Regions from separate parts of the Homo sapiens genome. Here region 1 is linked to region 2. The links are contacts of gene promoters, found by promoter capture Hi-C in blood cells and fetal thymus (Javierre and others, 2016). All regions are on one chromosome and are shown on one strand. Each heading gives the region's core, a stretch centred on a gene start or on the middle of the fragment in contact. The rest is flanking DNA. Distances are from core to core; before and after follow the strand shown. Region 1 overlaps UTY (ubiquitously transcribed tetratricopeptide repeat containing, Y-linked). Region 2 holds the start of TMSB4Y (thymosin beta 4 Y-linked).

Region 1 (3,278 bases), core at 403-2,902, 270 kb before region 2:
CCATACTGGAATACAACTAGAAATCAATACAAGAGAAATGCTGGAAACTATACAACTACATATAAAACAGCATGGACCTGAATCTGTGGAAGGAAAATAAAATAAAATAAATAATAATAAAGTTGAAAATAATAAACATAACATAGATAATAGTTAACATTAAGTGTGGTTATTTAGAAGTTATACATAGGCTAAGAAATTTAAGCAGCCCCTCCCAGCATTGCTAACAGGTTGCAGCTGCGAGCTTATCTCAACCTTCCAAGCTTATTGCCTGCCTCCAGACCCCCCGCACATTCCTGTCGTTCCTGTTTTCCCTTACCCCAGCTCTGTCCAGCTTCGAGCCTGACTGGTCAAGATAACTAAATTGTAAGCTTTCTCAGAATTGTCACAGGTTAAATAATTTACTGTCTTTGTCTGAAACCGGTATCCTGCCTTGTTTTCCCGCCTCAAACAACATGTAAGCAAGCCTGCATTCTTTGTCAGGGTCGGCAGCCATTTTGGGCGTGAGCCTACTGGCTCAGGTGCCTCAATTAAAGTTGTTTTTGGTCTCCAAAGGTCTCTTTGTCTTCTTTGGCTGAGTTTTACTGCGACATTTTGGAGAGTTCGACAAGAGGAGAGAGAGGACAAGCTACTGTCTCCTTTGACTGTGGGACTTGGGCCCCGGGGTCGGGGGAGACCCAGTTCTTAGGCGCGCCGACCGAAGAGTTTTCCAAAAAAGGGCTGGGTTCTCCCACATCCCAAGGCCCTGCCCCTGATAGCGCAGGAAGGAGACCGCAAGACAACTTTCAGCGCAGTGAAAAGGAATCACGGTAAGAAAAGAGGGCCCTACAGAGTAAGAAAGGGTGCCTTACAGGGACAGACACAAATCGTGCCCTACCAGGCGGGTGGGGCACTGATCACCACTCAAGGGTTGTCTATTAGCCTAACCCAGAAGGTGAATGGGGGCGGTGAGGAAAGGACCTCACCACTCATGTGACATTCAGCCCTGAAGCCGGCAGCAGGGTAGAGCCTGCTGAGCCGGAGGGAGCAAAGAGAAAGTGAAACCGTGAAGTCACCAGTGTGAGTGAACTGTCCCAACTGGGAGTGTGTGGGTACGTGTGAACCCACCCAGGACACGAGACAGACTCGTTTCATCTGATGAGGAGTCCTGGGGACAGGAGTTGTGTACGAATGTGTGTGAATGTGGGAGCCTAACTAGGCTCATCAGCTGTGAAGCGTGGGGGCCGCAAGTCTGTTAGAGTGGACTGTATGCTGTGAGTGAAATGTTGGACCCAGGACGACTAGAGGCGAACTTCCTTTGGGGCTACCGCATACAGCTGAGGGAGGTGGCCCCACAGTCTAGGTATTGTGGCAGAGAGTAACAAACTCTCCAAAGTCAAGCGGGGTCTGGCGTCTGAAACACCCCCACGAGGGAGACAGTCTAATCGGTCCGAAATGAAAGTGAGGGTCATTGCGTCGTGCGGGAAGAAATGGGAGGAAAAGAACCTAAGGAATTAACCCCCACTCCTTTGGAGTGCATGCTAAAGAATTTCAAGGAGGGATTTTCTGGGGAATATGGAGTAAAGCTGACCCCCGCCAAAGGTTAAGAACTCTTTGTGTAATAGAATAGCCTAGTTTGGGCATTGGTTGGCCGCCAGAGGGCACCCTTGTTTGGAAAATCACCAGCAGGGTGTTTCAAATAATAACAGGGGCAACAGATCAGCATGGACACCCAGATCAATTTCCATATATTGATTCCTGGTTAAATATAATCCAAAATTGCCCTAAATGGCTAGGAATCTGCATGGCTGAATATTGTAAGACCCTAGTCGCCCGAACTGGTCCAAAAGGGATCAAAAAGACAGTATCATGCAAGCCTTTAGAGAAGGAAACTAGGAAGCAAAAGAGACACACACACACACACACACACACACACACACACACATCTTACAGGCTCCTTTGGAGAAGCTAGAGAATCCTTCTCCATATGCCCTTCTCTACCCATCCTTAGCAAGGCTCAGATAAGAGGAAGGGCAATTGTCTCCTGAAGAAACAAGCTCAGAAAGTAGCGGGGCATCTCCACAGCAGGAAGAAGCTGCATCCTTGCCACCTAAGACTAGGAGGGAAAAACAGGATGAAGAGGCAGGGCAGGGCGTCTTAGGTCCAGTGGTTCCCGAGCTCTGCAAATGCCGCTCAGAGAGACGTGGGCACAAATCTACCTTGATGATCAAGGGTACAAGGTGGAGAACAAACTTACTCTTATCTCCCCTTCTCCACTACTGACCTTTTAAACTGGAAACATCATAACCCATCATACACAGAAAAGCCACAAGCAATAATTGATACGAGAATAATCTTTTCGACTCATAGTCCTACCTGGCCAGACTATCAGCAATTATTAGTAGTTTATTTAGCACAGAAGGAAGGCACAGAGTGGTGCAAGCAGCCCTCCAATGGCTAGAAAACAATGCCCCTGAATGCATAAATGATTCCAGGCAGTATGCGGAAGCTCAGTTCCCTGACACTGATCCAAATTGGGTCCCAAACAACCCTGATCATTTAGAATGCCTACAGAGGTATGTGGATGCACTCCTAAATGGGGTAAAGTCAGAGGGAAGAAAAGCAATGAACATAGGAAAAGTTTCAGAAGTCCTCCAAAAGCCCGATCAGAGTCCCAGCCAGTTCTAAGAGCAGCTGTGTGAAACCTACTGGCTCTACATCTGACCCACAGGCAGCTGATAACCAGAAAATGGTAAATACTGCCTTCGTTAGCCAGTCACAAAGTGACATCAAAAAAAAAGCTCCAAAAATTAGAAGGATTGCCAAAGAGGCATGGAGGAACTCCTCAGTGTCTTAATGAATGCTGGATATAAAATTTCAGAAAAAAAAAAAAAAGGTTTGCATCTGTTGTCCTAAAGTTAAATATTTAGGTTTTATAATAAGCAAAGGACAAAAGAAGCTTGGTAGTGAGCGGAAAGAGGCCATGTGTACACTCCCTACAGGTACCACAGGGCGCCAAATCAGAATTCTTAGGTGCAGCAGGGTTCTGCCGCATTTGGATCCCAAGTTTCTCACTTTTAGCTGAGGCTCTATATAAAGCTACAAAGGGGGTTAAGAAAGAGTCCCTCTTCTGGGAGACGGATCAAGCAAAAGCATTAAAAAAAATCAAAAAGGCCTTAACATAGGCTCCCAGATCAGACTAAACCTTTCTTCTTCTACGTGGATGAAAGAACAGGGACAGTAGTAGGAATTTTAACACAAATGCTAGGATCATGGCATAGACCTGTGGCCTATTTATC
Region 2 (3,701 bases), core at 541-3,040:
CTTAGCAATCACTCTGACAATTTATGAATATAAAAAACAAGAAGGAAAAGAATTTCCTCATTGTCAGGCAGTAAGTCAATGGCAGAGCTTCAAATTGACTTATTTTGCTAAGAGGGAGCTATAAACTCCAGACAAATTACTCTACACCCAGAGTGTAGAGTACAATATTACCCTACACTCAATATTACTGTTGAGTGCCTACAAAAATTATGCTAATGAAACAATATGGATGTTACAAGGCTGAAAGTTTCTCTTTTAAAATCACTGAGGGTTGCTTTACCTTCTGCCAAAGGCAAGAGGAACGCCAGTGAGGAAGAGGTCCGGGGTGGGGCGCATAGGCCTCCACTGGTCTGAAAGCTGAGTCACAGGAATGATATCCCTGTAGCTGACCAGGCACTCCAGGGAGGGACACCGCGCCTTTGCGTGCGTATGTCCTCAGTAGGTAAAGCCAGTTTCTCAGTAAAACAATGCCTGTTACCCTAGGTATTACTCCGACCCTTAAATAATATGCACCAGTCCGCAAGAGCAATTTTTACGCTCCTGTTGTAAAAGGGGAAAATGCGTTTTGAAGGAAGTGTTGGAAGGTGCTTTGCTCATTTTATCTTTCGCCATCGTTGTGGTTAGGGGGCAATGGTGCACCTAGGGTGGCGTTGGGGCTCCCCAACCGCCCGGCAGCTTTCAGACGCCCTTCCGAGACGTGGAGCGAAAGACTTAAGCGGGCCTGTGGGTGACATCAACTCATTTACATAGGAGGGCTATAAAGTAGCGCCTGCCCATCCCGTCCTGGCAACTCCGCGGTGGACACTGTGTAGACTAGATTTCACTCCCTTACGCGCCTGGCTTAGGTAAGCCCCAGGGCCCCTGCATCCTTACTCCTTCTACCCTCCCCTTCATGCCGCGCTTGCCCCTTCATTATTCGCGTCCCTGTGAAGACATCCCCTAAAGCCAAGCCGAGTGATTATCCCCGGGAAAGCTGCCTTGGGGAGGTGGGGATGCGAAACACCCTAGATGCTGGGTAATGCGGTGGGGAAATCGATGATTTAAGAACAAAGCAAATAAACCGGCGTTTATGTACTGCCGCTCGGAGGGTTCGTGTTAAAATTTCTTAGTGTGCCGAGGCGGGCGGATCACGAGGTCAGGAGATGAAGACCATCCCGGCTAAAACGGTGAAACCCCGTCTCTACTAAAAATACAAAAAATTAGCCGGGCGTAGTGGCGGGCGCCTGTAGTCCCAGCTACTTGGGAGGCTGAGGCAGGAGAATGGCGTGAACCCGGGAGGCGGAGCTTGCAGTGAGCCGAAATCCCGCCACTGCACTCCAGCCTGGGCGACAGAGCGAGTCTCCGTCTCAAAAAAAAAAAAAAAAAAAAAAAAAAAAAAAAAAAAAAAAAAAAAAAAAAAAAAAAATTTCTTAGTGTTTGCTCTCAAAGGTATTGTGCGTTGTCTTGGAGGCTGAGATGTGGGAACAGACAGATCCTTTGTTCTGAGGCTCACTCATCTCCCGAGCCCCGAGCCGTCTCCCAGCCTCAGACGGCTCTGCGGGCTGCATCTGTGCAGCCTGGCAGCGGCGGCGCTGCGCTGTGACATTTTCACAGCCCTTCTTGCAGAGGCATGTGTGCTAGGGATGCCGAAATGCCGAGAGCGCCGGCAGGACTAGCTTCCGGGCCGCGCTTTGTGTGCTGGGCTGCAGTGTGGCGCGGGCGAGGAAGCTGGTAGGGCGGTTGTCGCAAGCTCCAGCTGCAGCCTCCGCCTACGTGAGAAGACTAGAAAGCGGGCGCAGGACCAGGCCTGCGTTGTTTGCAGAGAGGCCGTGGCTACAAAATGGAAGTGCTTTTGCGACCTGGGCTCCATTTTAGGAATTCTTGCCCGATTTTAACCACTTGAACGCGGAAGTGGCTTTCCTATTCTCTTCCAAGCCAGCCTTTAATTTTAAACGCTGTAATTAACAGTTCACAGGGGTCAAATTCCTTTATTCCGGAACATTCCACTTTGAGAGGGATCTGTCCTCTTTGGTCCCCTGCGTTTTCAAATATTTGAGGAAAGGTGTCGCCTCTTTTTCTGTGGAAAGAGGAAGCTCATGAGCGCGAAACAGCAGGGGACGGAGGGCGAGAAGGGCTTTCTCAGGTTGCGGGTCGGAGGGCAGAAGCACAGTTCCCAGTACAGAGACCCGGACAGGTGGCTGTTTCTCACGCTCACTTTGGATTGCTCCCTACGGCTTCCTCCGCAGCCATGTCTGACAAACCTGGTATGGCTGAGATCGAGAAATTCGATAAGTCGAAACTGAAGAAGACAGAAACGCAAGAGAAGAATCCATTGTCTTCCAAAGAAAGTAAGCTCCGATCCTCCCCCATCTTTAGAAAGGCTGGAATGCGAGCGGGCGGTGGGAGGGCGGGAGACTGGGAGCTGCCACGGGAAGAATTCGGGAGGCAGGGGAGGGCGCTCAAGGAGCAGATAGTTGGTGAATGTGGCTTGCAAAGGTTAATTAAAAATCAGATAACTTTTAGTGCAGTAATCCCAACACTTCGGAAGACCAAGGCGGGGATCACCTGAGGTCAGGAGTTCGAAACCAGCCTGAGGAAACCTCGTCTCTACAAAAAATACAAAATTAACTTGGTTTGCTGGAGGGCGCCTGTAATCCCAGTTACTTGGGAGGCTGAGGCAGAAGCATTGCTTGAACCTGGGAGGGGAAGTTGCAGTGAGCCCAGATCCTGCCACTGCACTCTAGTATGGGTGACAGAGGGAGACTTCATCTCAACCAAAACAAAAACAAACAAAACAATAGGGCGATCCTTAAGGGGGAAGGTTGCATGAACACAGGGTTCATTAATTTAATAATGCAATATTTAATGCGCTATAATAATATACAAACACATTTATCACTGAAAATGTACGGCTATTTAATATACTCAATATACATTTTTTATTTGATTATGACATGCCTAGCTAGGTACACTTGCAGAACGTTTAGGATATGACAAGATGTTGCAAATGAAAGCCCCTTAATTCCATATTAGGCTGTACTGAAACCCCTTAATCATCCCATCCATATTAGGCTGTACTGAAACCCCTTAATCATCCCACTCCATCTTTTTCCTTTTCTGTTTTTTTCTGGTCGCAGCTATCGAACAGGAGAGGCAAGCAGGCGAATCTTAAACAGGCATGTGCCACCAATATCTACTGTACATTCTACAAGCATTGCTTTCTTATTTTACTTCTTTTACTTGTTTAACTTGGTTAGATGCAAACACGTTGGATGAGTTTGAAAGGACTATGCTGCCCTTTTGACATCAAAGACCTGCTGACAATGGAGGCCACGCCTGCTTCTCCCATCGCCTGTCTGGCTGGCAGGGAAGGAAAATAGCTTGAATGTTGGTGAAAGACTTAGCGGAGTGGGAGGGCAGTGAAATCTAGAGTAAAACCAAGTTGGGCCAAGTGTCCTGCAGAATCTAAAATGAAGTTTAATCAGCGTGCCATTTTTGTTGTTGTTTGAAAGATTTTAATTTTTGGAATGCACAGTTTTTATTTAAAAAAGACATTTTTAAACCACTGCTTGTGAGATTGCTTGTTGATTGGAAAGAGTGTTTTATTCACCATTTAAACGTTTGCAAAGTGGCGTGCCCCTTGGCCTCACAGGCAAAGAATAACTTAAAAGCTGACGATTTGAATAAATTATGTTACAGTATGAAATATGTTTTACCTGGAT

Evidence for each region. The method cuts DNA at HindIII sites, captures the fragments that hold promoters and counts their contacts. A CHiCAGO score of 5 or more calls a contact.
Region 1: a contact is called between a fragment that was not itself captured here and the fragment with the promoter of TMSB4Y in region 2, in 1 of 17 cell types (activated CD4 T cells). The highest score is 5.3, in activated CD4 T cells.

Annotation. Positions count from the first base shown.
Region 1 is chrY:13,435,081-13,438,358 of GRCh38, forward strand. The region is part of intron 4 of UTY (ubiquitously transcribed tetratricopeptide repeat containing, Y-linked); the gene reads right to left. Among named protein-coding and RNA genes, the nearest start is that of MIR12120, 42 kb to the right of the region's middle. The HindIII fragment of the contact is 2,567 bases long and covers 370-2,936 here.
Region 2 is chrY:13,702,109-13,705,809 of GRCh38, forward strand. It overlaps TMSB4Y (thymosin beta 4 Y-linked), which reads left to right and starts at 1,791. Exons shown (of 2, transcript NM_004202.3): 1 at 1,791-2,327; 2 at 3,117-3,701. The coding sequence starts at 2,228. The coding sequence ends at 3,151. The HindIII fragment of the contact is 16,122 bases long and covers 1-3,701 here.